Regions from separate parts of the Homo sapiens genome. Here regions 2, 3, 4, 5 and 6 are each linked to region 1. The links are contacts of gene promoters, found by promoter capture Hi-C in blood cells and fetal thymus (Javierre and others, 2016). All regions are on one chromosome and are shown on one strand. The core of a region is centred on a gene start or on the middle of the fragment in contact, and the rest is flanking DNA. Distances in the headings are between cores, read along the strand shown.

Evidence for each region. The method cuts DNA at HindIII sites, captures the fragments that hold promoters and counts their contacts. A CHiCAGO score of 5 or more calls a contact.
Region 2: a contact is called between a fragment that was not itself captured here and the fragment with the promoter of FAM187B in region 1, in 4 of 17 cell types (naive B cells, total B cells, naive CD4 T cells and 1 more). The highest score is 13.3, in naive B cells.
Region 3: a fragment that was not itself captured here is called in contact with the fragment with the promoter of FAM187B in region 1 in 1 of 17 cell types (non-activated CD4 T cells); the score reaches 5.6 in non-activated CD4 T cells.
Region 4: a contact is called between a fragment that was not itself captured here and the fragment with the promoter of FAM187B in region 1, in 3 of 17 cell types (monocytes, naive B cells and total B cells). The highest score is 13.3, in monocytes.
Region 5: a contact is called between a fragment that was not itself captured here and the fragment with the promoter of FAM187B in region 1, in 2 of 17 cell types (total B cells and naive B cells). The highest score is 7.1, in total B cells.
Region 6: a contact is called between a fragment that was not itself captured here and the fragment with the promoter of FAM187B in region 1, in 3 of 17 cell types (monocytes, naive B cells and total B cells). The highest score is 10.6, in monocytes.

What each region holds. Positions count from the first base shown.
Region 1 is chr19:35,226,780-35,230,958 of GRCh38, forward strand. It overlaps FAM187B (family with sequence similarity 187 member B), which reads right to left and starts at 1,960. Exons shown (of 2, transcript NM_152481.2): 1 at 1,180-1,960. The coding sequence starts at 1,901. The HindIII fragment of the contact is 8,324 bases long and covers 939-4,179 here.
Region 2 is chr19:35,080,882-35,085,480 of GRCh38, forward strand. All of the region lies in intron 3 of HPN-AS1 (HPN antisense RNA 1), which reads right to left. It also overlaps the pseudogene LOC100420797. Among named protein-coding and RNA genes, the nearest start is that of HPN-AS1, 23 kb to the right of the region's middle. RefSeq lists an enhancer at 3,237-4,051. The HindIII fragment of the contact is 5,907 bases long and covers 1-4,599 here.
Region 3 is chr19:34,984,686-34,989,307 of GRCh38, forward strand. No RefSeq gene overlaps it. Among named protein-coding and RNA genes, the nearest start is that of GRAMD1A, 13 kb to the right of the region's middle. The HindIII fragment of the contact is 4,935 bases long and covers 855-4,622 here.
Region 4 is chr19:35,389,746-35,394,417 of GRCh38, forward strand. No RefSeq gene overlaps it. Among named protein-coding and RNA genes, the nearest start is that of LINC01531, 14 kb to the right of the region's middle. The HindIII fragment of the contact is 543 bases long and covers 2,338-2,880 here.
Region 5 is chr19:35,436,161-35,440,693 of GRCh38, forward strand. No RefSeq gene overlaps it. Among named protein-coding and RNA genes, the nearest start is that of FFAR2, 9.8 kb to the right of the region's middle. RefSeq lists enhancers at 383-1,346, 1,347-2,308 and a silencer at 467-761. The HindIII fragment of the contact is 1,233 bases long and covers 2,211-3,443 here.
Region 6 is chr19:35,411,032-35,415,523 of GRCh38, forward strand. LINC01531 (long intergenic non-protein coding RNA 1531) reads left to right here. Exons shown (of 5, transcript NR_040046.1): 4 at 131-251. It also overlaps the pseudogene RN7SL491P. Among named protein-coding and RNA genes, the nearest start is that of LINC01531, 7.7 kb to the left of the region's middle. The HindIII fragment of the contact is 289 bases long and covers 1,620-1,908 here.

The DNA.
Region 1 (4,179 bases), core at 710-3,209:
TGTGTGGCCAGGGGCTGGCAAGACCTCTGCACTGAGTTAGACAGTGGCCCCCGCAAAATGCATGTCCTTCCCAGAACCTCAGAATGTAACATTATTTGGAAATTGGATCATTGCAGATATAATCAGTTGAGATGAGAGCATATTGGAATAAGGTGGGCCCTCAATCCCATCTGACCGGTGTCCTTTTAAGAAAAGGAAAAGAGAGACAGGGACACAGACACCCAGGAAGAATGCCAAGTGATGATGGAGGCGGGCATTGGAGAGAAGCAGCCACAAGCCAGAGAAGACCGGGATCTCTGACTGCATCCAGAAGCTAGAAAAAAGGAGGATTCTGCCCAGCTCACTCAGAGGGACTGAGAGGGAGCGTGGTTCTACTGACACCTTGATTTCAGACTTACGGCCTCCAGAAGGGTGAGACAATGGATTTCTGGGGTTTTTTTGTTTTTTTGTTTTTTGAGTCAGAGTTGTCTCGTGATGTTGCCCAGGCTGGAGTGCAGTGGTGTGATCTCGGCTCACTGCAACCTCCGCCTCCCGGGTTCAAGTGATTCTCCTGCGTCAGCCTCCTGAGTAGCTGGGATTACAGGCACGTGCCACCATACCTGGCTAATTTTTGTATTTCTAGTAGAGACGGGGTTTCACCATGTTGGCCAGGCTGGTCTCGAACTCCTGACCTCAGGTGATCCACCCACCTCGGCCTCCCAAAGTGCTGGGATTACAGGCATGAGCCACCGCGCCCAGCCTGCATTTCTTATTAAGGGGCAGGTGGACTGGGGGAGAGGAGGGGAAGGGGCTATTTTCCAGAGGCTCCTGGCAGGAAGTAAGAAGATGAGTGTGAGTTCTGGGAGGCAGGCCTTGATGGGAAGCCCCGGGGGCACCAGCCTCTCCTCCAAGGTCTCACTGACCTTTCCAGATGAAGCAGGGGCCTGTTGGAGCCCCTAAGCTTCCTGGGCTTCCCCCATCACAGCCCCATCTGTCTGCCTGGGCTTCTCCCATCCCGGCTCGCACCACCCTGGGCTGTGTCCCCCTCGGACTGTTTAAGAGCAGGGCCTGGCACTGTCCTGATGACCACTACGTGGCTGAACTGCAAAGAACGCCCACTCATCCCTCTGCACATATTACCAGGAAGGATCCCCTGACCGGAAGAATCTGGGTAGGGGCCAGAGGCAGGGATTCCATCACCTGTACATGGATCCTAAGGGACAGTCGAGCCACACAAATTCTGTCTTCTCATCGAGCCTGAAGTTGTCAAAAATGACGTAATCCACCCTTAACTGTGTGTTATTGGTGCACTGGACGTGGCAGGCTTCCACCTGCAGCTCAGGCCGCAAGCGGCTAGACCACACCAGCACCTCTCCCAGATAGAGCCAGCAGGGCATGGCTTCCTCCAGAGGCTCCTCAATGTAGCGGTACCCCAGGCGTTTACACTCGCCCGGCTCCTCACAGCGGTTGCAGTCCTGCCAGGGCTCCCACCAGGTAAAAATGAGCTGTTTGCTGCCCAAATGCAGGGTCTCGTTCTGCAGGGGCCTCTGACCCAGGTCCTTGTGTGTTATATGCAGGGTGGTGACATCCTGAAAGTCAATTTCATACTGCACCACTTGGCGGCCATTCTTGTTCCAGCAGTGGTAGAGGCCCGTCTGGGAGGGCAATGGATCTTTAATGAGAAGGCTGCCCTCGGGCATTATTTCCATATTGGAAATATTGGTGAGGCTGGTGAGCCTGCCCTTCTTGCCTTGTGTGAATAAATAGTACCAGTGCGCCCCCGAGGAGTTGCAATACAGGAGAATATCATTGCCTGAGAGTAGGGCCTGTTGGCACTGCTTACCACTGGGGCAGCTGATGGAAAAGTAGAACCCCAGTGCCGGGGCAGCAAAGTGGAGCAGCAGCCACAGCATGGGTGGCATGGTGGACTGGGGCTGTGGCAGTGGGCTGGTGCCACCCCGAACATTGTGAGGTCACCCATGAACTCTGGCCTCAGCCCTGGGCAGTGGGATGAATTGCAGCTACCACATGTGTGTGTGAGGTCACCATCCCCTTTTGTTTTGTGACAAGCTGACAACACTGTTTTTCTTTTTTTTTTTTTTTTCAGACAAGGACTCGCTCTTTTACCCAGGCTGGAAGGCAGTGCTGCAATCACAGCTCACTACAGCCTCAAACTCCTGGAATCAAGTAATCCTCTCACCTCAGCCTGTTGAGTAGCTGGGACTTCAGGTGCATGCTAACCATGCCCAGCTAGTTTAAAATTTTTTCTGTAGAGACGGGGTCTTGTTATGTTGCCCAAGCTGGTCTCGAACTCCTGGCTTCAAGCCATCCTCCCACCTTGGCCTCCCAAAGTGTTGGGATTACAGGCGTGAGCCACTGTGCCCCGCTGACCATATTTAATTTCTATTCCAAGCCCTCCATTTTGCTGGGAAAGGAGCAAACTTAATTTGTCTATTCAGAGTTTTCTCTACTACCTGCCCCGCTTCCTTTCCCAGGGGTGAGACTACATTCCCAGGGATGAAATAAGAGCATGAAGGTGTCACATGTGAACACTCAACACATATTTCCTGAACTCTTACTATGTTCTGGGCACACTTCTTAGCACTGGGGATAAAGCAGTAAACAAATCCTCTCGGGCTGGGCTCGGTGGCTCATGCCTGTAATCCCAGCACTTTTGGGAGGCTGAGGCGGGCGGATCACCTGAGGTCAGGAGTTCAAGACCAGCCTGGCCAACGTGGTGAAACCCCGTCTCTACTAAATAGCTGGGTGTGGTGGCGGGCATCTGTAATCCCAGCTACTCAGGAGGCTGAGGCAGGAGAATCACTTGAACCTGGGAGACGGAGGTTGCAGTGAGCCGAGATCGCACCGCTGCACTCCAGCCTGGGTGACAAGCGTGAAACTCCATCTCAAAAAAAATAATAAAAATTTAAAAAAATTTATCTCTGGTTACTGTTCTGACCTCCTGCACCTTTCCCCCTACTCCCTACCCTCCAACCACGCTGGCCTCCCGCTGTTCCCTGAATCTGTCAGGCAGGCAGAGGGGCTCTTGCCCCAGAACCATTGCACATGCTGGTCCCCGTCTCTTCCCTCAGCCATCTGCATGACTCAATACATCTTCAACAAATATTTTTCTCAGTTGCTCCCTTTCCTTCCATCCCCTTTTCTAAACACCTTCTCAGGCGGTGGCTCACACCTGTAATGCCAGCACTTGCCAGCACTTTGGGTGGCCAAGATGGGAGAATCACTTGAGGTCAGGAATTCGAGGCCAGCCTGGCCAACACGGTGAAGCCCCATCTCTACTAAAAATACAAAAAATTAGCCAGGCATGGTGTCGGGCATCTGTAATCCCAGCTACTCAGGTGGCCGAGGCAGAAGAATAGCTTGAACCCAGGAGGCAGAGGTTGCAGTGAGTGCAGATTGCGCCACTGCACTCCAGCCTGGGTGACAGAGACACTGCCTCAAATAAATAAATAAATAAATAAATAAATTAAATGATCTTCCAGACTTTTCCCAACATAGAAAAAGATGGAAGATTTCTATGAGACTTGCATCACCTTATCTCAAAACCTTATAAGGACATTACAACAAAGAAAAACCTCAGGTCAATCTCTTTTGTCAACACAGACACACTATCCCAAAGAAAATATTGCAAATTGATTCCAGTGATTTTCTTTACACAAGGATAAATATAAAGACCAAATTGGGTTATTTCAGGACGGCAAATTTGGGTTATATTTGCACATCAATTAATGTAATTCACCACATTAACAGAATAAAGGAGAAAAACCATATTATTATCTCAGTAGATACAGAGAATGCATCTGATAAAACTCAACATTCATTTATGGCTCAAAACTTTTGGCAAACTAGGAACAAAAGGAAATTTTCTAAGAAGATAAAGTGTTTCTATTAAAAACCTAGGACAGGCCGGGTACAGTGGCTCACACCTGTAATCCCAGCACTTTGGAAGGCCGAGGCGGGTGGATCACCTGAAGTCAGGAGTTCGAGACCAGTTAGGGTAACATGGCGAAACCCTATCTCTACTAAAAATACAAAAATTAGCCGGGTGTGATGGTGGGTGCCTGTAGTCCCAGCTACTTGGGAGGCTGAGGCAGGAGAATCATTTGAACCCAGGAGGCGAAGGTTGCAGTGAACTGAGATTGCGCCATTGCACTCCAGCCTGGGCAACAGAGTGAGACC
Region 2 (4,599 bases), core at 935-3,434, 150 kb before region 1:
TGCCACAAGGGGTTCCCGGCAGATCCTGTGCGAGGCTCTGGGGAGCTATGTCCAGCAGTGCCAGCAGCACGGCCTCCTAGTGAGGCCCTGGAGACACCTGGTGGACTGCGGTGAGTGGCATCCTCTCCATGCCAGCCAGCACGTTCTGCCGGCCAGGTCCAGAAAACCAGTTCCGCCCATTTTGTGGGGTTGCATAATTAATGATCTCAGAGTAGCTACTTCAGGCCTGGCCCAGTGAGGCGCTCGACATCACTGGCCTTGGTTTCATGCTTCCCACCAAATTGGCTCCACATCCAGACAGGCTCACCCTGACCACAGTGGCTCCACACCTTGCAGCCACTCAGGTTTCTCAGCCCAGCAGGAAAGAGAGCTCCGTGGGTCTCAGAAGCTCCAGCATGATTTGCACTGCGTCTCTGTGGCTTCAACTGACTCCTTCTTGTACCTCTCACTGTGGCCAGGGGAATGTGAGTCTCCGATTGACTTCTGCCTGACCGCGGGCTCTGCCCTTGGGGAGACTGCCCAGGCAGAAGTTGGGATGAGGTTAGCAGTGGGCAGTAGTACTGGCTGGTGCCCAAAGGACAAATGTCTGCGGCCTCTCACCCTTGTCCTGCTGCCAAGTGATCTTTGTCAAGAGCATTAAGCAGTCTTTCAAACATTTTTGTTGGAGACCCACAATACAAAATATAGTTCATTTCAGGATCTAATTCTATTAGTTTTCTATCTCTTGCTGCTGTAACAAATTGCAACAAACTCAGCAGCTTAAAATAACACTTTTTTTTTTTTTTTTTGAGACAGGATCTCGCTCTGTCACCCAGGCTGCAGTGCAGTGGTGCAATCATGGCTCACTGCAGCCTCCAACTCCTGGCTCAAGTGCTCTTTCTGCCTCAGCCTCCTGAGTAGCTGGGACTACAAGCATGCACCACCACACCTGGCTATTTTTAAAACTTTTTTTGTAGAGACAGAGTCTTGCTATGTTGCCCAGGCAGTTCTCAAACTCTTAGTGTCAAGCGATCCTCCTGCTCAGCCTCCCAAGGTGCTGGGACTACAGGTGTGAGCCACTGCACCCAGCTAATTTTTATTTATTTATTTATTTATTTTGAGATGGAGTCTCACTCTGTTGCCCAGGCTGGAGTGCAATGGCGCGACCTCAGCTCACTGCAACCTCCACCCCCTGGGTTCAAGCAATTCTCCTGCCTCAGCCTCCCAAGTAGCTGAGACTACAGGCACCTGCCACCACAGCTGGCTAATTTTTTGTATTTTCAGTAGAGATGGGGTTTCACCATGTTAGCCAGATGGTCTTGATCTCCTGACCTCATGACCTGCCCACCTTGGCCTCCCAAAGTGCTAGGATTACAGGCATGAGCCACCCCTCCCGGCCCAACTCCAGCTAATTTTTTGAAAATGTTTTGTACAGATGGGGTCTTGCTATGTCAAATTTTTTCTTACAATTCCAACACAGTTCTCGCTGGCCTAAAAATCAACGTGTCTGCAGGAGTGCATTTCTTTCTGGAGGCTCTAGGGGAGAACTGTTTCCTTAATTATTTAAATTGTTGGCTGAATTCAGTTTCTGATGGCTATAGGACTGAGGGCCCTGTCTCTCTGCTGGCTGTAACCTGAGGGTTGGTGTCTACTTCTAGAGGCCACCCACATTCCTTGGCTCATGGCCCCTTCCATCATTTTCAAGGCCACTAACAGCAGGTCAAGTCCCCATTATGCTTCGAAATCCCCTGCCTCTTTCTGATGGACTCTCTGGCCTCTGTCTCCCACTTTTAAGAGCCCACGTGATTACACTGAGCCCAGCCAGATAATCCAGGTTAATCTCTCCCTTCCCAAGGTCTAGAACCTTAATCACATCTGCAAAGTCCATTTTGCCATGTAACGTATCACAGGATACAGCGATTAGACTGTGGACATCTTTGAGGGGCTGTTCTTCAGCTGACCACACCAATATATGCATACACAGCACACAAAGTGTCACCAAATAGGAAAATGCACTCAATACTTTGCATTACATTCTTTTCTATTCTATTTCATTTTTCAAAGCAGGGAATTATCCCACTGATCTGTATAGCATTGAGATTGAGAACACAGATCCCAAAGTCAGCCTGCCTTGGTTAGGATGCCAGTACCACCACTTTCAGCTGTGTGCTCTTGGGGACGTCACTTAACCTCTCCGTGCCTCAGTTTCCCCTTTAACAAGAGAAAGAATGGTGAAAATAACACTTCTCTTGTGGGGTTGTTGTGAGAGCCAAACAAATAAACAGTAGCTGGCAATATAGTGAATATAGTGAATGCTCTACAAGTATTAGCTGTCACTATGAAATTGATTTTTTTTTTGAGGGGGGATGGAGCCTCACTCTGTCACCCAGACTGGAGCACAGTGGTGTAATCTCGGCTCACTGCAAAATTCACCTCCCGAGTTCAAGCAATTCTCATGCCTTAGACTCCCAAGTGTCTGGGAGTACAGGAGCATGCCACCATGCCCAGCTAATTTCTGTATTTTCAATAGAGATGGGATTTTGCCATGTTGGCCAGGCTGGTCTTGAACTCCTGACTTCAAGTGATCCACCTGCCTCTGCCTCCCAAAGTGCTGGTGAGCCACCGTGCCCAGCCTGAAATTGACTTTTAACCTGTGTTAACATCACTCTGTCCTGAGATCAAAACCACAGGGCTCTGCTGTTGGCAGGTCTTGTCCCAGAGTCTGGGTCAGCCTGTCCTGGGGAGGGCCTGGGATCAGCCCGGCCCACACCCTCTCCAGTCCAGCAGGCAGCTGAGATGGGTCCTGAGCCATCTTTTTATCCCTTTGGTGTGAATGGGACAACGCGACCATTTCACAGATGAAGAGCAGACACAGAGCCGCACAGCTGGGGAGTGGCAGGGAGGGGTCCCCCTGGGCCTGATCTTGCCCTGGGTGATGCAGGGGCCAGGGCAGGACTGAGAAGTGCCGGGTCTCTGACCTCGTAGGGCCCACACGCTGCCAGGGTGGCCGAGTCTGTGGTGGGGCAGCCACGGCAGAGTGATCAGGGCTCACATGAGGGAAGCGTAGGGCCACAGGGGAGCACAGAGGAGGGGCTGGCCCAGCCTGGAAAGTCAGGCCAAGTTTCCCAGAGGAAGGGCCACGAGAGCTGAGGCTTGAATGACAAGTCAAAGCCAATAGGTAAGCAAGGAGAAGCCAAATGTTCTAGGGAGAAGGAACAAGGTTTTCAGAAGCCCAGAGACTGTGTAAATTTGAGCCAGAGATGGGGGAGCCTGGAGAGAGACATGGTCCTGGGCTGTGTCTGTGGGGCCTTGAATGGCAGGCAAGAAGTGAGGACTTTATCCCGAAGGACTGGGCCTCTAACCTCCAGGACCCCAAGGCGCAACTCCTTTTCTCTGCCCCTAGTCCCTCACTCCTCTCAGAGCAGGAAGCAAGTTCAGCATCTTGCAAACAAAACCTCTCTTTGTCCAAAGGAAACAGCCCATTGCAAGCTCCGAAGGCCAACACAAGGGACTGGTGGTGGGTGCTCTGGCCTCTGGCCTGCCTGGCCCACCCCTCCTCCCAAAGCCAGAGACAAGCCCCGGGGGCATCACACACTTTGACTAAGGTTAACTGAACACCCACTAAGTGCTAGGCAGCATTCTAGGCGCTGCAGACACAGCAGTGACCCAAACAGACAAAACCTTGCCCTCATGGAGGCGACATTCCAGTGGAGAAGACAATCAGTCAACCCAGCCAGTAAGTAGGTGATTAAACAGTAAGTCAGGCGGGGCAGGGCTGGGGAGTGCTGGAGAAGGGGCATGCAGTATTAAACTGGGGGGTTAGGGTTCCCTGGGGTGCAGAGAGGTGCCCTGGGAGTGGAGACTGAAGGTGGTGGAAAAGGGAGCCGAGCTGGCTGGGGGAGCGGGGAGGCGGGGGGACATTCCAGGCAGCAGGAATCCAGGAAACCCATCCAGGAAGGGTGCAGGTGTCTCCTCCAGCCCCCAGACTCTGGGTGCTCAAATTAAGATGAACTTTGAGCTGGAATATCTCCCACATCCCACCCAGGACATTTCTCCTTTTCTGACTTTCTTTATTAATCCTGAGACTGGGGGACACCCCCACTCCGCCAGCGCACACACACACACACACACACACACACACACAAAACCCTCCCCAGCAATCTCTCCTCCAGTATGTTTTTCCCCTGATCTGTGAAACCCCCAAAGACAAGGGTTAGGGATGGGGTCTCTCTTGGTCACCAGTGTGTCACCAGAACCTACCATAAGGCATTTAAAAGCATAGGTTAGGGCTGGGCACAGTGGCTCACACCTGTAATTCCAGTACTTTGGGAGGCCGAGGTGGGTGGATCACTTGAGGTCAGGAGTTCAAGACCAGCCTGACCAACATGGTGAAACCTTGTCTCTACTGAAAATACAAAAAAAAAAAAAAAAAATTAGCTGGGTGTGGTGGTGTGCACTGGCTGAGGCGGGAGGATCGCTTGAACCCAGGTGGAGGTGGAGGCTGCAGTCAGCCAAGATGGTGCCACTGCACTTCAGCCTGGGTGACAGAGCAAGACTCTGTCTCAAAAACATAAAAAAAATGAAAAAGCATAGGTCAGATCTCATCAGATTCCTGATTAA
Region 3 (4,622 bases), core at 2,072-4,571, 240 kb before region 1:
GACCAAGGTAGGTGGATCACCTGAGGTCAGGAGTTTGAGACCAGTCTGGCCAACATGGTGAAACCCTGTCTCTATTAAAAATACAAAAATTAGCCAGGTGTGGTGGCACATGCCTGTAGTCCCAGCTACTCAGGAGGCTGAGACAGGAGAATCGCCTGAACCCAGGAGGCGGAGGCTGCAGTGAGCCGAGATCATGCCACTGCATGGCATTTTCTTCATCTGATTTTTTTTTTTTTTTGAGACAGAGTCTTGCTCTGTCACCCTGGCTGGAGTACAGTGGCATGACCTTGGCTGACTGCAACCTCCACCTCCGGGGTTCAAGCCCTTCTTGTTCTTCAGCCTTCTGAGTAGCTGGGATTACAGGCATGCACCACCACATCTGGCTAATTTTTGTATTTTTAGTAGAGACGGTTTCACATGTTGGCCAGGCTAGTCTCGAACTCCTGACCTCAAGTGATCCACCCGCCCTGGCCTCCCAAAGTGCTGGGATTATAGGTGTGAGCCACTGTGCCTGGCCTCTGAATTTTTTTTAATGTTGCTTTTATCCTTTTTCTTTTGATAACTTTGTTCAGTTTCTTTGAATACCCTTTCTTCTCTATCTTTTTAATGAAACTTTCCAAACACAGAAAAGTCGAAAGAACTATGCAGCAAATAGCTGTATACATACCACCTATGCCCTTAACATTTCACTGTACTTGCTCTATATGACTTTTTTATGTGTCTAAAGTGAGTTGCAGACATCAGGTTCCCACCCCTAAATCTGCCGGTTATGCATTTCTCTTTTAGCTACCTTTGACTTGGGGGGAACTCTTCCTGTGCCAAGTAATTGAAGACATTTGTGCACAGTAGGGGGAAGCTTTTGTTTCTGCCTAGCAGGAAGCATTTCCAGTTTCCAGGAACGTTGCTAATTTAGAGGAATATGTGTATGTGTGAGTTGCTTAAACTTCCTTTGCCCCAGATGGCCAAGAACAGCATCCGGAAAGCCACTTACAGTGCAGCAGCTCAGCCCCACCTCCTCCTGGCAAGCAGGCAGCATCCTGTCCAGACAACTGTGTGTTGATCCCTCCTCCAGCACTGCTTTCCTGGCCCCAGACATCAATGGCAGCAAGTGCCAGGAAGGTTCCAACGGCCAGGCTGTATCTCTCACTCTTTGTGTTCCAAACAGGTGACTGCTGGTTTGCCCATCACAACGAGCCTCTTGTGCCTTGTAGGCTTAGTCTAAGATCAGAACCATGGGCACTCCTTCTTGGCTTCCTCCTCGACTCACTTGACTTTTCCTGTGTTGGTAGCTCTTCCTCCTCTGACCTTTCAGATACCCCCTAGTTATGCCAGAAGTGCAGAGTGCATTTATGTTTCTGAATCCTCCTTGCTGGTCTGGTGTAATTCCTGAAAGAAGGCATACTGCAGTAATTTTACTTATGATTCTTTTTGCAACTAGCAAGATCAACCAGATATTTATTTATTTTCATTTTTTAGAAAATTTTAATATAATTTTAATGTTGTAGGGAGCATGGGGAATATGGAGAAGGGCAGGAAGAGACTTTTGTGGGTGATGTTGGTTAGCTTGATTGTGGTGGTGATTTCATGGATATATACAAATGTCAATATCAAAGATAAAAATTGTATAATTTAAATATGTGCAGTGTATCATATATCAATTATACTTCAATAAGCCTGTTAAAATAGTTTTAACAATGATGATATATTGCAACTTTTATGTATTTTAAACTAATTGAGTTTTTATACATGAAATTGTACATGTAATTGAGTTTAAAATACGTAAAATTTTAATGACAAGTTAAATTTTATAACATACATTCAGTAAAGTGCATAAATCTTAAATGCATAGTATAATTAATTTTTCATATGACTACCACTACCACTCAGATGAAAATATAGAATACTGGCTGGAAGCAAATGGCTCATACCTGTAATCCCAGCATTTTGGGAGACCAAAGCAGGAGGATCCCGTGTGGCCAGGTATTTGAGACCAGCCTAGGCAACATAGCGAGACCCCATCTCCACAAAAAATAAAAAGTAAAAATATTAGCCATATGTGGTGGCACATACCTGCAGTCCCAGCTACTCGGGAGGCTGAAATGAGAAGATCAGTTGAGTCTGGGAGGTTGGGGTTACAGTGAGTTATGATTGTGTCACTTCATTCCAGCCTGGGCTACAGAGCAAGACCCTGTCTCTAAAAGAATAAAAAAAAATATAGAATACTTCCAACACTTCAGAAGATCCCTCGCGCCCTCCTAGTCATTATCCCCTGAGGGTAAGCACTATTCTGACCTCCATCACCATGGATTGGTTTCGCCTGTTCTTGAACTTTATATTAATGGAGATGCATTCACGCTGATACTTGCGGCAATAGTTTGCTCATTTTCGTTGCCATATAGTATTCCACTGTATGAATATATCACAATTTATTTATTCATTCTCTTTTTGATGGACATTAGGGTTGTTTCAAGGTTTTGGCTGTTATGGATAAAGCTGGTATGATCATTCTTATTCAGGACCTTTAATGGACATTTGTGGTCTTTTTACTTGAGTGTTGTAGTAAGTAGTATAATAGCCCCCCAAAAGATATGTCCACATCCCAACCCTCGGAACCTGTGACAGTGACTTTATTTGGAAAAGGAGTCTTTGTACATGTAATTTTTTTTTTTTTTGAGATGGAGTCTCACTCTGTTGCCCAGGCTGGAGTGTGGTGGTGCAATCTCGGCTCACTGCAACCTCTGCCTCCTGAGTTCAAGCAATTCTCCTGCCTTAGCCTCCCAAGTAGCTGGGATTACAGGCATGCACCACCACACCCAGCTAATTTTTTTTTTTTTTTTTTTTTGTAGAGATGGGATTTCACCATGTTGGCCAGCCTTCACCATGTTGGTCAGGCTAGTCTCCAATTCCTGACCTCAGGTGATCTGCCCACCTCGGCTTCCCAAAGTGCTGGGATTGTGGGTGTGAGCCACCGCACACAGCTTGTACATGTAATTAAATTAAGGATCTCAAGATAAGATCAGCTTGTATTATCTGAGTGGGCTGTAAATCCAATGACAAGGGTCCTTGTAAGAGACACAGGGAGTAGGAGAAGGCCATGTGGAGACAGAGGCAAAGATGAGGGTTATGCAGCCCCAAGCTAAGGACTGTTTAGAGCCAACAGAAGCTGGAAGAGGCAGGGAAGGATTAGAGCCTTCAGAGGGAACATGGCGCGGCTGACACCTTGACTTTGGCCTTCTGGTCTCTAGAACACTGAGATAATAATTCTGTTGTTTCAAGCCACAAAGTTTGGGATCATTTGTGACGGCAGCCAAAGGAAATTAATAATACAAAAGTTCACTTTATTAATACTCATTTATATTTGTTTGTGATGTGCACAACACTCCAATGGAAATTTTAAAAAGTGTTTGGAGTACAGACTTTCCCAAGCCTGGCTAACTTTTTCTTCCTTCTCTGGGAATGGATGTTTTGCGCAGTGTACAGAAGTGTGGAGAGTGACCCCAATGTCCTTGTTGATGTGTGTCTGTAAATCTTACCTGTCACAGTGTGGGCACTCTGAGAGCCCTGTGTCCCCACCAGAAGCATCTGTTCCTTATGCAGCCTGAGTGTCCTCTGCTAGGGTGGCCAGTTCCCCTCCTCCTGCCCTGCCTTTTTGCAGGTTCACAGGTGCAAGACTGGCTGTTTCCTGTTAATATTAACTATACTTGAATTTTCAAGGATTTTTTTAAGAAAAAAATATATAATGCCAATACAAAAAAAAACACAGGAAAAAAAATTAACCTTACTAAACTAAACCTGCCCTGATAGGAGGGTTCTTCTCACAAACCTGACTGCAGAGCAAAATGGAATTGCTCCAATTTCTCCCTTTGCAAACAGGCATGCATCAACTTCTCATTTTAACAACTTTCTTTCTTTCTCTTTCTTCTTTCTTTCTTTCTCTCTCTCTCTTTCTTTTTTTCTTTTTTTTTTTTCAGACAGTCTTGCTCTGTCACCCAGGCTGGAAGTGTAGTGGTGCGATCTTGGCTCACTGCAGCCTCCATCTCCTGGGTTCAAGGGATTCTCCTGCCTCAGCCTCCTGAGTAGCTGGGACTACAGGTGCACGCCATCACACCCAGCTAATTTTTTGTATTTTTAGTAGAGAGGGGGTTTCACCATGTGGGCCAGGCTGGTCTTGAACTCCTGGCCTCAAGTGATCCACCCGCCTTAGCCTCCCAAAGTGCTGGGATTACAGGCATGAGCCACTGTGCCCAGCCTTTAACGACTTTCTTAATAAGTGGTGTGGGAAAACACCCAGAGCTAAACAAAACCAACATGGGGAAGTGACAAGCATTTGAGAATTCTTACATTTCTCATAGCTGTATTCCCCCAGAATCTGGTATCCAGCTTTTTTTTTTTTTAGTCTGGAGACAGGTTGGAGTGCAGTGGTGTGATCAGGGCTTACTGCAGCCTTGCCCTCATGGGCTCAAGCAATCTGCCTGCCTCAGCCTCCCAAGTAGATGGGTCCACAGGCATGTGCCATCAGCCTGGTTAAATTTTCTATTTTTTTTGGTGAAGATGAGGTCTTGTTATGTTGTCCAGGCTGGTCTCAAACTCCTGGGCTCAAGCAATCCTCCTGCCTCTGCCTC
Region 4 (4,672 bases), core at 1,359-3,858, 160 kb after region 1:
ACGCAGTTGTGCACACACACAATTACTAATGTCAACAAAAAGAGTCAAACTCTGTAAAATATTTGAAGAGATTTATTCTGAGCCAAATATGAGTGACCATGGCCCATGACACAGTCCCCAGGAGGTCCTGAGAACATGTGCCCAAGGTCGTTGGGGTGCAGCTTGGTTTTATACATTTTAAGGAGGCATGAGACATCAATCAAATACATTTAAGATATACATTTGTTTGGCCCAGAAAGGCGATACAACTCAAAGCAGGGTGGGGCTTCCAGGCTATAGGTAAATTTAAACATCTTCTGGTTGACAATTGGTTGAGTTTGTCTAAAGACCTGGGATCATAGAAAGGAAATGTTCAGGTTAAAAGATTGTGGAGACCAAGGTTCTTTTGAAGTCTTACAGTGGCTGCCCTTAGAAACAATAGTTGACAAATGTTTCCTATTCAGACCTTTAAAAGGTGCTAGACTCTTAGTTAATCTCTTCAGGATTGGGAGGGCCTGAAAGAAAAAGATCTAGCTATGTTAATAGAGATTCTTTACAGATGCACATTTCCCCCCCACAAAGGACAACTTTGCAGGGCCATTTCAAAATATGGCAAAGAAACATGTTTTGGGGTAAAATATTATGACTTTCTTCTTTGTCGTGTAATGTTATACCAGAGTAAGATTGGAAAGTAAGTCACAATATGTAAGTTAAATAAAACCCATCTGGGCTGGGCATGGTGGCTCACGCTTGTAATCCCTGCACTTTTGGAGGCTGAGGCAGGCAGATCACCTGAGGTCAGGAGTTCGAGAACAGCCTGGCCATTATGGTGAAACCCCATCTCTACGAAAAATACAAAAATTGGCAGGGCGTAGTGGCAGGCACCTGTAATTCCAGCTACTCGTGAGGCTGAGGCAGGAGAATTGCTTGAACCCAGGAGGCAGAGGTTGCAGTGAGCTGAGATCGCACCATTGCACTCCAGCCTGGGCAACAGAGTAAGACTGTCTCAACAACAACAACAAAAATCTGATGAGAATTTATGGTTTGTAGAGCATGACTTCTCTAGACCCCTTAGATAGGAATTTGGGCAAGATTTTAAAAATCAGAGCTTAGTTCTCACTAACAAGCCCCAAGAGTGTCCAAACTGAAACAGTCATGGTGCTTTCCTCCCTCCATCATTTGGGCTTATTCAACCTGCAAATGGAAATTCCTTAGAAAATTCCCAAATTGAGAGGAGCCCTTCCTGCTGTCTGGAACCCAGAAAAGACACTCATCCATCCAGACACAGATATCAAATTTCAAAGTCTGTTCTTCCTAGGCAATCAGCAATACATTTGGGGCTGGCAGCAGCAGAGCCAAAGAGAAAAAGATGGAAACCCACCTCCAGCCAAAAAAAGGTCAGACAGCTGTACAGGGGGCTTCTGAAAGTCCCAGTCTGCAGCAGCTGAGCCACAAGCAATGTGTTCCCAGGTAGGGAACCAAAATCTGTTACTGAAATGCCAGGGCTCCAGTCTAGGTCCCGTTGCTCACTGCACAGAAAGCCAATCACCAAGACAATGAGTACTGCCTGGGAAGAAGGCTTTAATTGAGTGCTTTAGCCAAGGAAAATGGGGATCAGTCTCAAATCCATCTCCCTAGTCAACTAAAATCAGGGGGTTATACAGCAGGGAAGAAATGTAACTACATGTGGGAAAACCAGAGTTAGGGAGAGGTAAGGAAGAGGAGTTGGTCAAAGGAATTAGGGAGGGATAAGGAAATCAGGAGGGATGAGGGGTCTGGCATCTCATTGTCTGGATGCAGTGATCTGGTGAGTTTCAATTCGTTGATTTCCTGTGGCAAGAACTCAGATAAGACAAATGCAGGCTTCAAACTTTAAGACCAGGAGGGGGCCAGGCACAGTGGCTCATGCCTGTAATCCCAGCACTTTGGGAGCCCGAGGTGGGTGGATCACGAGGTCAGGAGATCAAGGCCATCCTGGCTAACACAGTGAAACCCTGTCTCTACTAAAAATACAAAAAATTAGCCGGGTTTGGTGGCATGTGCCTGTAGTCCCAGCTACTCAGGAGACTGAGGCAGGAGAATTGCTTGAACCTGGGAAGCAGAGGTTGTAGTGAGCCAAGATCGCACCACTGCACTCCAGCCTGGGCAACAGAGAAAGACTCCATCTAAAAAAAAAAAAAAAAAAAAAAAAAGAAGGGTGAATTTCTACGTTGATCCAAAAGAAGCATCTATGGGACAATCAGGCCAGTTTCATGAGGAATATAAATTGGATCCTGTCATTGCCCTGAATAAAACTTTTCAATGGCTTTCCATTCTGGCCTCCTCCTCACAGCCTTTGAGGCCCTGCCTCTCTCTCCAAGCTTCTCTGGGGCCATCCCCAGAGAAGTGTCACTGACATCGCTCTTCTGGCCTGGACTTCTCTCTGTCCCTTGAGCAGGCCAAGCTCTGAATGTCTGCATGCACCATGCCTTCCACTCTTTACCTGGCTAGTTCCCCACTTCTTCCAAGTTTCTGTCCAATGTCACGCCTTAGAGAGGCTTTCCCTGATCATCCAATATCAAGTAGCCCCCTTCTGATATTATCTCACACTGCGCTCTCATGGTTTGATGTTTGTATGTGTGTGTTCATTTGTTTAACGTGACTCCTACTAGACTGAGAAGCCCATGACAGCAGTCACCACGTCAGTTTTCTTTGTCACTATATACCCAGTGGGTGCCTAAAACCGTGCCTAGCACAGACTGGGCATTTGATGGTGAATAAATGAATGAATGATTTTTTAAAAATATCTCTAATTTTCTACTATTATAAATAATGCTATGAGAACATCCTTTTACATAAAGGCACGTGCACTGTGCATTTCCTACAAGTCGTACTGTTGAATTAAATGATATGTACATGTAAAGCTTTGATAAATATCGATGAATTACCTTCCCCGGCTGAGTCAACCCTTTCTTCCCCAACAGTCTGTAAGAGACCCCATAACTCTGCTGACAAGAGAAAATATTGTATTTTAATTTTTTGAGATGATATTTAGAATTTAGAAACTTAAGTATTAGTCTGGGATTTCCAGAGAAACAGAACCAATAGAGTGTGTGTATGTGTGTCTGTGGGTGTGTCTGTGTGTCTGTGTCTCTGTGCATGTGTCTGTGTGTGTATGTGTGTCTCTGCGGTGTGTGTGTGTCTGTGTGTGTGTCTGTGTATGTATCTGTGTGTGTGTCTCTGTGCATGTCTGTGTGTGTCTCTGTGTGTGTGTACCTCTGTGTGTCTCTGTATGTTTTTGTATGTGTGTCTCTGTCTGTGTCTCTATGTGTGTCTCTGTGTGCATGTCTGTGTGTGTGTTTCTCTCTGTGTGTGTTTTTGTGTGTGTCTGTATATGTGTCTCCATGTGTGTGTCTGTATGTCTCTGTGTGCGTCTGTGTGCATGTATGTTTGTGGCTCTGTGTGTTAATGTGTGTCTCTGTGTATGTGTTTCTGTGTGCATGTTTGTATGTGTTTCTGTGTGTCTCTGTGTGTTTTTGTGGGTCTGTGTGTCTCTCTGTGTGTGTGTATATCTCTCTGTGTCTGTGTGTGTCTCTGTGTTTCTGTGTGCATGTCTGTGTGTGTGTCCATGTGTGTGTCTGTGTGTTACTGTGTGTCTCCGTGTGTGTGTCTGTGTGTTTCTGTGTGTGTGTTTGTGTGTGTGTGTGTGTGTGTCTGCATGTCTGCATGTGTGTATAAAGAGATTTATTTAAGGAATTGGCTCATGTGATTGTGAATGCTTGATGAGCCCAAAATCTGACGGAGGAAGCTGGCTGACTCGAGGCTCAGGAAGAAGTTGTGGTTGAGTCTAAAGAGAGCCTGCTGGTGAGCCAGGAAGACCCACTGCTGCAGACAAAGTCTGAATCCAGCATGCAGGAGAATTCTCTTTTGCATGTGGAGGTCAGCCTTTTGTGCTGTTCAGGCCTTCAGTGACTGGAGGAGTCCCCCACATTTTGGAGGGCAATCTGCTTTGCTCAGAGTCCACCAATGTAAATGTCAATCTCATCCAAAAACACCCTCACAGCAACACCCAGAATAACGTTTCACCAAATATCTGGGCACTGTGGCGTGGCCAAGCCAACACATAAAATTAACCGTCATACTCTGTATTATTTTCATATTAATCTCCCAGATTAAAAATGAGATAGACAATATTTACATATTGTGTAGAGTCATTTGTGTTTCTCCCAATACTTGCTTTGTTCTTATTTGACTTACAGGAGTTCTTTGAATATTGGCTTACAAACCTCATATCAGGTGTATAAGTAGAAGGATAGTGGCCTTTTACTTTGTTGATTGTAATGTTTTTCATAGGTTATCTCTTTTTATGTGCTCAAATTTCTCATCATTTTTTGATGACTTCTACATTATGTCATACTGGGAAAAAGCCTCCTTATTTATAAGACTTTTAAAATTACACAATACCTACACAACATTTATTATTTTTAAAAACATTTTTGATCTTGAATGCACCTGCCTTTTATTCTTGTTACCTGGCTGTAATTCTTCCCAGTGGATAGGCAGCTATCCCAACATAATTTACTGAATAGTCCATCCTTTCCTACAGTGGTTTGAAATGAACCTGGATCACTTAAGTAGGAAGAATCCTCTAAATGTAATCTAAAACAACAAGATTTCATCATTTTTACCCATCCTTACCCATAATGAGGAAAAA
Region 5 (4,533 bases), core at 1,577-4,076, 210 kb after region 1:
AACCTCTATGTGTTTAAGTCTCTGTTATTTGGGCATATTTGACAGTCCTCAAATGAGATATAAGGGTTTTATCTTCATAAATGGCAAAGACTTCTAGAGACAGAAGGGAAGGCTTCTGGGTGCTAATTCACTGTGGCTTCATATCATCAAGTAGCAAGGGCTCAAGGAAAAAAAAAAGTGGGGGAAGGAATCCCCAAGACATTCCCAAAATTAAGACTACATTCTCCCCTCCCACCTTCTCCTGAGAGCAGTCTTCCCTGCTTCCTATGGAATCTGAATTCTTCTGGCATTGGAAAAGGCTCAGGGAAGATGGCTCAACGTGAAGAGGATCTCAGTTCACGTAAACTTTACCAAGAGCGGGTCTTAGAGTGTTATGTCCACTGCATCACTGTTTCTCAATCTATTTTTAACCACTTCCCACTTCTGATAAACAGAAACTTTACTTTCTGGTTTGCATTAAGAAAACCAGGGCTTTTCTCTCTCTCTTGGAAAATTTCCAAGCATTTTGAAACGTGCTGCCAACTCCCCGGGTGTGACACCCGGGAGTTTCTGATATCCTCCCTGCACTTCCTGAAAATCTGCCGTCTAATTTAAGTTTCCTAAGATTCTGCAAAGCAGACAGAAACCCTGGTGACTCCAGCGATACCACAACTCTTAGGGGAAGATGAGTCATGTATGTGGCAGAAGCAGGTAATGGAGGAAAACAGAGACAAGGTTGGGCTGGGGAAAGGAACACAGAGCAACTAGTTTTGCCCCCCATCTGGTGTGTCTTTTGCAGGATCAGCCAGCACCTGACTGCAAGTTTCCGCCTCCAGACACTCTGCTGCCTCTCCTCCCTGGCTCAGGGTCAGCACTGAAAATCAGCCCAAGGAAACGACCAGCTGCCTTCTGGCCCTTATCAAGGGTGGTGTGAACCCGCGCTAGCTACCCAGGGGTCTGGCCCGGAAGCGGCAGGGGGAGGGCTTTTTAGTCCTGTGTCTAGTCCAGTGGTCACCTCTGCACGGACAGCAGATGGAGAAGGGGGCTCGGGGAAGGAGGAAAAGGTCAGGCAACCTCTCCAGGATTCCTGGAATAAACATTCCTCCTCCCAAGCTCTTCATTCTGTTTCACAATCAAATCCAGAGTCTTATAAGCATTCATGGAAACCATGAAAGCAAACAACTTGGTAAACGGTAGACAGAAACAGTAAATAGAATCTTCCCTCTACTTCCTGTGTATCCAGAATGTTTAGAGACAGGGAGTGGGGACTGACGACAGATTGCAGCATCTGGGATCTGGGGCTATGGCAGGAACGAGGACATGTGGAAGGCTGGGAGTTGCCTGGGTCTTGGGAGTCTGGGGTTGAAGGTTACTCCTTCATGGTTTCAGGGAAAGAGTGAAGACCACTGGCAAGAAGCCTGGTAACCACACAGACACACCCTGCAGGAAGCAGTTGACACCATCTCACACCCTGACCTGTCCCCCATGTCCTCCTCTGTGGGATGCACAGGACTTCCAGGGGCCACCAAAGAAGTTGGGTCTAACCGGGGCCCTCACAGTACAGTGGCGAGTGTAGTGCGGTGGTAAAGACCATGGACTCCAGCCGGGCGCGGGGGCTCACGCCTGTAATCCCCACACTCTGGAAGGCCAAGGTGTGCAGATCGCTTGAGTCCAAAAGTTCAAGACCAGCCTGGGCACATGGTGAAACCCCGTCTCTACAAAAAATACAAGCATTAGCCGGGCATGGTGGCGCACTGTAATCTTGTAATCCCAGCTACTCGGGAGGCTGAAGTGGGAGGATTTCTGAAGTCGCAGGTTTCAGTGAGCCAAGATAGTGCCACTGTACTCCAGCCTGGGTGACAGAGTGAGACCCTGTCTAAAAAAAAAAAAAAAAAATTAGCCAGGCATGCTGGCGTGCACCTGTAATTCCAGCTACTCCAGAGGCTGAGGCAGGAGAATCACTTGAGCGTGGGAGGCAGAGATTTCAGTAAGCCATGATTGTGCCCCTGCACTCCAGCCTGGGCAACAGAGCGAGACCCTGTCTAAAAAAATAAAAAATAAAAAAAGCCCATGGACTTTTTAGTTCAGAGTTCAGTTCCTCCGTCCACCAGATGCATGACTCCAGGCAAATCACTTCTTTCTCTACATACTTCAGCTTCCTCGTCCGTTAAAGGGGATGAGTGTGTAACTTCCTAGGATGTTTTAAGATTTACATGAGTTCATCTTTGCAAAGCTTTTTGCATGGCACTTGATACACAGTGTCATACAATACAATAAATGTTGGCTGCCATGTCTGCTATGTCCTCTGTCTGTTGTAATGAATTGCCAAAAACTTGGTGGCTTAACATAACAGAAATTTATTCTCTCACAGTACTGAAGACTAGAAGTCCAAAACCAGTGTCACGGGGCTGAAATCAAGGTGCAGGGTCTCCTAATTTTCCCTCCTTTTTCCTCTGTCCTGACCAAGAAACAGAGTGCCTTGACCAACCTGCGACCCAGCCAGCTGCGTGTTTTCTCTGCAGACTTGAACCCAAGCCAGGGCTTGAACATTCCCAGGCACTGATAAAGGTGTTTAGACACTGAAAGAAACCAGCCCTGGCCCTGGGCCAAATTCCTTAAACCCTCATGCAAACCCCTCCCTTGCCCCCTCCCTTTTCTCTCATTGTTCGTCTTGAGGATGCTGCAGCCCACTCTGCAAATTCCCCTCCGAAATGCTTTGCACTAATCACCCTGGCATTTGGTGCTTCTTGCTTTGGGAACCCATCTGGCCCCCTCTTGGGATGGTTTGGGGAACTCCTCGACAGAAACTCCCTTGCCACAGCTTTTCGGGGTGACTCCAGCCAGATCCGGCTGGGATGGAACACAGGTGTTCAGCAGGATTCCATTTCTCCGGAGGCTCTTGAGAAAATCCATTCTTTGCCTCTTCCAGCTTCTGGTGGGCGCTAGCTTGCAGCTACATCACTCCGGTCCTCCAGGATCACAGCATCTTCTCCCCTTCTGTCTGATTTCTCCCTCTACCTCTTTCTTTTTGTGATTACATTTAGGACCATCTCAGATAGTCCAAGATTATCTCCCCATCTAAAGATTCTTTTTTTTTTTTTGAGACGGAGTCTCACTCTGTTGCCAGGCTAGAGTGCAGTGGCACGATCTCTGCTCACTGCAGCCTCCACTTCCCGTATTCAAGTGATTCTCCTGCCTCAGCCTCTGGAGTAGCTGGGATTACAGGATTACAGATGCACACCACCATGCCTGGCTAAGTTTTTGGATTTTTAATAGAGATGAGACGGGGTTTTGCCATATTGGCCAGGCTGGTCTCGAACTCCTGGCCTCAAGTGATCTGCCTGCCTCGGCCTCCCAAAGTGCTGGGAACACAGGTGTGAGCCAATGCGCCCAGTTCTGCCTCCTCCTTTTTGTGATTATGTTTAGGGCCATCTCAGATAGTCCAAGATGACCTCCCCATCTCAAGCTTCTTAATCCCAATGCAAAGTCCCTTTTGGCCGTGGTTCCAGGGATTAGGATATGGGTCTCTTTTGGGGGGACCATCATTTGGCCACCACAGCTGGTGTGATTGGCCAGGAGTGAAGTCTAATAAACAGGACTCAGGTGGACGGAGAGTGGAGGAAGGAGAGGTCTCTGCAGAGAGAGGTTGGGGTATGGCTACCGGCAGTGGGTGGGAACAACCACAGAGGCCCACCACCAAGGCCACAGAGACAGAGTCTGCAGAGTTCTCCCAAGAAGCTAGCCTTGAGACGCTCCTTTTAATTTTCTTCTTCAGCAATGTACCAGCCCGGGGATGGGTTCTGCAGGGACTGTGGAAGTGAAGGACCCCACGACTGGAGTGACAGGGGAGGCTGCATAATAGACAACTAAAAGAGAAGATGCACGGAGGGGGGTGGGCATAAACTGTTACCTTCACAGTGGGTGAGCTCCTCTGGTGAGGCCTCTGCAGGGCTCAAAAAAGGTGATACGCAAATGAACTCAGGGGAACTGCACTGGCACAGGGGCCATTACGTCTCAAAGTCCATCAGCACGTGCTGGTCTAGATTCTCCTTCCCTCTTCATCCCTAGGAGAGTTCCATTTCTCTCTGGCATCCTGTACTTCCTTATTAATTGTCATTTATTTAAAATTGCACACTGGGTGCAATGGCCCACACCTGTAATCCCAGCACTTAGGGAGGCCAAAGCAGGAGAATCGCTTGAGGCCAGGTGTTTGAGACCAGCCTGAGAAACACAGCAAGACCCTGTCTCTACAAAAAATAGCAAATTAGCCAAGTGTGGTGGCCAAGCCCGTAGTCTCAGCTACTTGGGAGGCCGAGGTGGGAGGACCGCTGGAGCCCAGGAGGTCGAGGCTGGAGTGAGCTATGATCACACCACTGCACTCCAGCCTGAAGTGACAGAGCGAGACCCCCACCTCTAAAAATAATAATAATCAGCCCAGACGTGGTGGTTCACACCTGTAATCCCAGCACTTTGGGAAGCCAAGGTGAGAGTATGGCTTGAGGCCAGGAGTTTGAGACCAGCCTGGGCAACATAACAAGACCCCATCTCTACCAA
Region 6 (4,492 bases), core at 514-3,013, 180 kb after region 1:
TATCACAGAGTGAACACACCTATTTAAGAAAAAGCAAAAAGTCTACCATATTATTTTGTGCTTTTTATTTCCCTCATCTTTTATTTTATTTTATTTTATTTTATTTTATTCTATTTTATTTTATTTTCAGACACAGTCTCACTCTGTTGCCCAGGCTGAAGTCAACGGCATGATCTCAGCTCACTGCAACCTCCACCTCCTGGGTTCAAGCAATTCTCGTGCCTCAGCCTCCCAAGTAGCTTGGATTACAGGTGTGTGCCACTATGCCTGGCTAATTTTGGCATTTTTATTAAAGACGGGGTTTCACCATGTTGACCAAGCTGGTCTTGAACTGCTGACCTTAGGTGATCCAACCACCTCGGCCTCCCAAAGTGCTGGTATTACAGGTGTGAGCCACCTTGCCAAGCCATCCCTCACCTTTTAATATTTCTTTTTTTCTTCTCTCTAGCCTTCTTTTGAGATTCAGTTCGTTTATTTCTTTTCTTTCTCATTTCATTTATTCCTCCACTGACTTGGAAACTGTATGTTCTGTTTCCATTATTTAGTGGTTATTTTAAACACTGTAAGATGGTAGGAGTTCCTCAATGAGTTACTCCCTCCCTCCCTTCCTTCTTCCCTTTAATACCACACATCAAGGAAAACCCAACCCAAGTAGCTTCGAACTATGTGAATCTAGGGCAGCAGTTTTCAAAGCACTGTCTGTGAGGTCAAAACTATTCATAATGCTATTAAAATGCTGATTGCTCTCTTCACCTTCATTATCTCACAAATAATGTGCACAGTGGAGGTTTTGAGAGCTACGTGACGTGATATCATGACGGAATGAATGCAGACCAGATAGGAAAATACAGCTGTCTTCTATTAAGCCAGGCATTAAAGAGATCTGCAAAAATGTAAAACAATGCCACTGTCACGAATTTTTTGAAGATATAGTTGTTTTTTCTAGGAACGTGTCATTTATATTAACATGTAATGGTTTTATGGTTATTATTATTATAAGATAAGTTAATACACATTTTTAAATTTTTCTGTTTTAACTTTGTTTTTTTTTTGTTTTTTTTTTTTGTTTTTTTTGATACGCAGTTTCACTCTTGTTGCCAAGGCTGGAGTACAGTGGTGTGATCTCGGCTCACCGCAACCTCTGCCTCCTGGCTTCAAGCGATTCTCCTGCCTCAGCCTCCCAAGTAGCTGAGATTACAGGCACAAGCCACCATGCCCGGCTAATTTTTGTATTTTTAGTAGAGACAGGGTTTCACCATGTTGGTCAGGCTGGTCTCGCACTCCTGACCTCATGATCTGCCCACCTCAGTCTCCCAAGGTCCTAGGATTATAGATATGAGCCACCACGCCTGGCAGGAATTTTCATTTTTGCTTTTCTTTCCTTTTTTTTCTTTTTTCTTTTTTTTTTCGAGACAGTGTCTCACTCTGCCACCCAGGGTGAGTGCAGTGGCATGAACACAACTCACTGCAGCCTCGTCTTCCCAGGCTCAAGCAACCCTCCCACCTCAGCCTCCCAAGTAGCTGGAACTACAGGTGCACGCCACCATGCTCAGCTAATTCTTGTATTTTTTGTGGAGATGGGGTTTTGCCATGTTGCCCGGGTTGGTCTCAAACTCCTAAGCTTAAAGCAATCCACCTGCCTCAGCCTCCCAAAGTGTTGGGATTAGAGGGGTGAGCCACCACACCCATCCCTTCAGTAATTTTCAAGAGTATAAACCGACCTTGAGATCCACAAGTTTGAGAATTGCTGACCTGGTGAGATGACAGACAGGATTACTCTGCTAAGTGCAATTGTGCACATATAAAACCTTCTGCTACCTGATGTGTCTTTAATGATTCGAAATTTCATAAAGTCTAATGCCACTTAACCTCTCAAAGTGAGTTTAAAGTTTGCCTGATAAAATGCAAAGCTTGTTGAGATATTAAATATGATACTTAACAATCAGAACTATTCCATGAGGAGATAAAGAAGTAACAAAGCCGGCTCAGATGGATGGGATGTAATTGCGCCGCACAGACCTGTATTCACCATGTTATGTTAGTTCCTGTTCTAAAGATGCTTTTTTTTTTTTTTTTTTTTTTTTTTTGAGACAGAGTCTCGCTCTGTAACCCAGACTGCTGCAGTGCAGTGGCATGAGCTTGGCTCACTGCAACCTCCGCCTCCCAGGCTCAAGCAATTCTTATGCCTCAGCTTCCCGAGTTGCTGGGATTACAGGCATGCGCCACCACACCTGGCAAATGTTTGTATTTTTAGTAGAGATGGGGTTTCACCATGTTGGCCAGGCTGGTCTTGAACTCCTGGCCTCAAGTGATTCATCAACCTCAGCCTCTCAAAGTGCTAGAATTACAGGTTTGAGCCACCGCGCCTGGCCTAAGGATTGTTTAAATTGGAGTTTTTCTTCTTGTTTTATGGGGAAGGATTACTTCATCTACAATTAGGTGGAATATTAACCCAAACTATATGTAGGATTTCCAATCTTAGAGGCTATAGGAACTGGGGGAGAAGGAAAGCATAATACTAATTATATTTGTCCTATGTCATCCTAGGGAAAGTGCATATTTAATTCCTGTCAGCAAAGATTAAAGAAAGATTTTCAGGGCAAAAGTTATAAACAGGCTTAGTGTGTTTTATTTTGAACGGGGGAATTCACAAAGCCTTTGTGAAAGCCTCAATTTTACTGTTAGACTACTTGATAGCACCTAGTTAATATAAGCTAGGGCGATTCAACTAGTTCCATTGCACCTCCCGGTAAATAAATGGTTCCTGAGGCATTGTGTTAAGCGAGGAATGGAAGTTTGAAGGTTACCGGCAAGGCTCCTTCAGCCCTCTCCGGTTTTCAGGTTAATGGTGGGGAGAGTGAGTGTCCACCAGAAAGGGACTGTGATGTGACGTTAGGTCACTTGATTTCTGTAAACTTATGGGAGACCTTTCTCCTAAAGATGGGCTCAAGATGCCACCATTTACAATGTTACTCTCAATGACCTTGGGGAAGTCCTGCTCCTAGGGGTGGGACACAGTGATAAGAGGGAGGGGTGTGCCGGGCATGGTGGCTCATGCCTGTAATTCCAGCACTTTGGGAGGCTGAGGCAGGCAGATCACCTGAGGCCAGGAGTTCAAGACCAGCCTGGCCAACATGGCAAAACCCCATCTCTACTAACAATATAAAAATTAGCTGGGCGTGGTGGTGTGCAGCTGTAATCCCAGCTACTTGAGAGGCTGAGACAGGAGAATCACTTGAATCCAAGAGGCAGAGGCTGTAGTGAGCCAAAATCATGCCATTGCACTCCAACCTGGGCAACAAGAGCAGACACTCCGTCTAAAGCAAACAACAACCAAAAAAAAAAAAAAAAAACACAAGAGGAAGGGGTGGAAGAGTGTACTGATTGTTGGACCCTGAGGATTGCAATTTTATCATAACATTCTCTACAGTCTCTTTTCAAAAATGAACCAGCAATCAGAGATGGCACCGATTGGTTTGGCCTTCTTAGCAACATCTCTCCCTTGTCCTCTGCCATGTGGTTTGGTGGAGCTGACTTTACCCCCAGCTCCTGCTCCAGGGGCAGGTGTGAAACCAGGACCCTGCTCATCTACAGTTCATCCTCTGACCACAGTGATGGTTCACACTTGGGTGCATGACTCAATCCAGACCAATGAAAGATGAACCCAGGCTGGGCATGGTGGCTCACATCTGTAATCCCAGCACATGGGAAGGCTGAGGCAGGCGAATCAGTTGAGGTCAGGAGTTTGAGACCAGCCAGGCTAACTTGGCGAAACCCTGTCTCTACTAAAAATACAAAAATGAGCTGGGCGTGGTGGTGCACACCTGTAATCCCAGCTACTTGGGAGGCTGAGGCGGAAGAATCACTTGAACACGGGATGTGGAGGTTGCAGTGAGCCAAGACCATGCCACTGCACACTCCAGCCTGGGTGACAGAGTGCACCCACTGTGGATCCAGCCTTTTTTTTTTTTTTTTTTTTTGAGACAGAGTCTCACCAGGCTTGAGTGCAGTGGCGTTAATCTTGGCTCACTGCAACCTCTGCCTCCCAGGTTCAAGCAATTCTCCTGCCTCAGCCTCCTGAGTAGCTAGGACTAGAGGCGCGCACCACCCCGCCCAGCTAATTTTTGTATTTTTAGTAGAGACGGGGATTCACCATGTTGGCCAGGATGGTCTCGATCTCTTGACCTCATGATCCACCCACCTTGGCCTCCCAAAGTGCTGGGATTATAGGCATGAACCACCGCACCTGGCCAGCCCTTCTCTTTTAACCACCAGGAGAAAGAACCTCTCTTCTACTGATCTTGAACTTGAAGGCTGGTCCCTCTCTTCTGGGGGCCATTGTGAAGAGAGGCTGCCTAAGCCTGAAGTCAACTTAAAGGAAGGTGAAACAGAGAAAAACCACACATTCAGGCATTTGATGTCCTAAAGCAGATCTACTCTGGGGATTTTTAGATTTGAAAACCAAATATTCTCCTTCCTTAGCTTAAAGCAA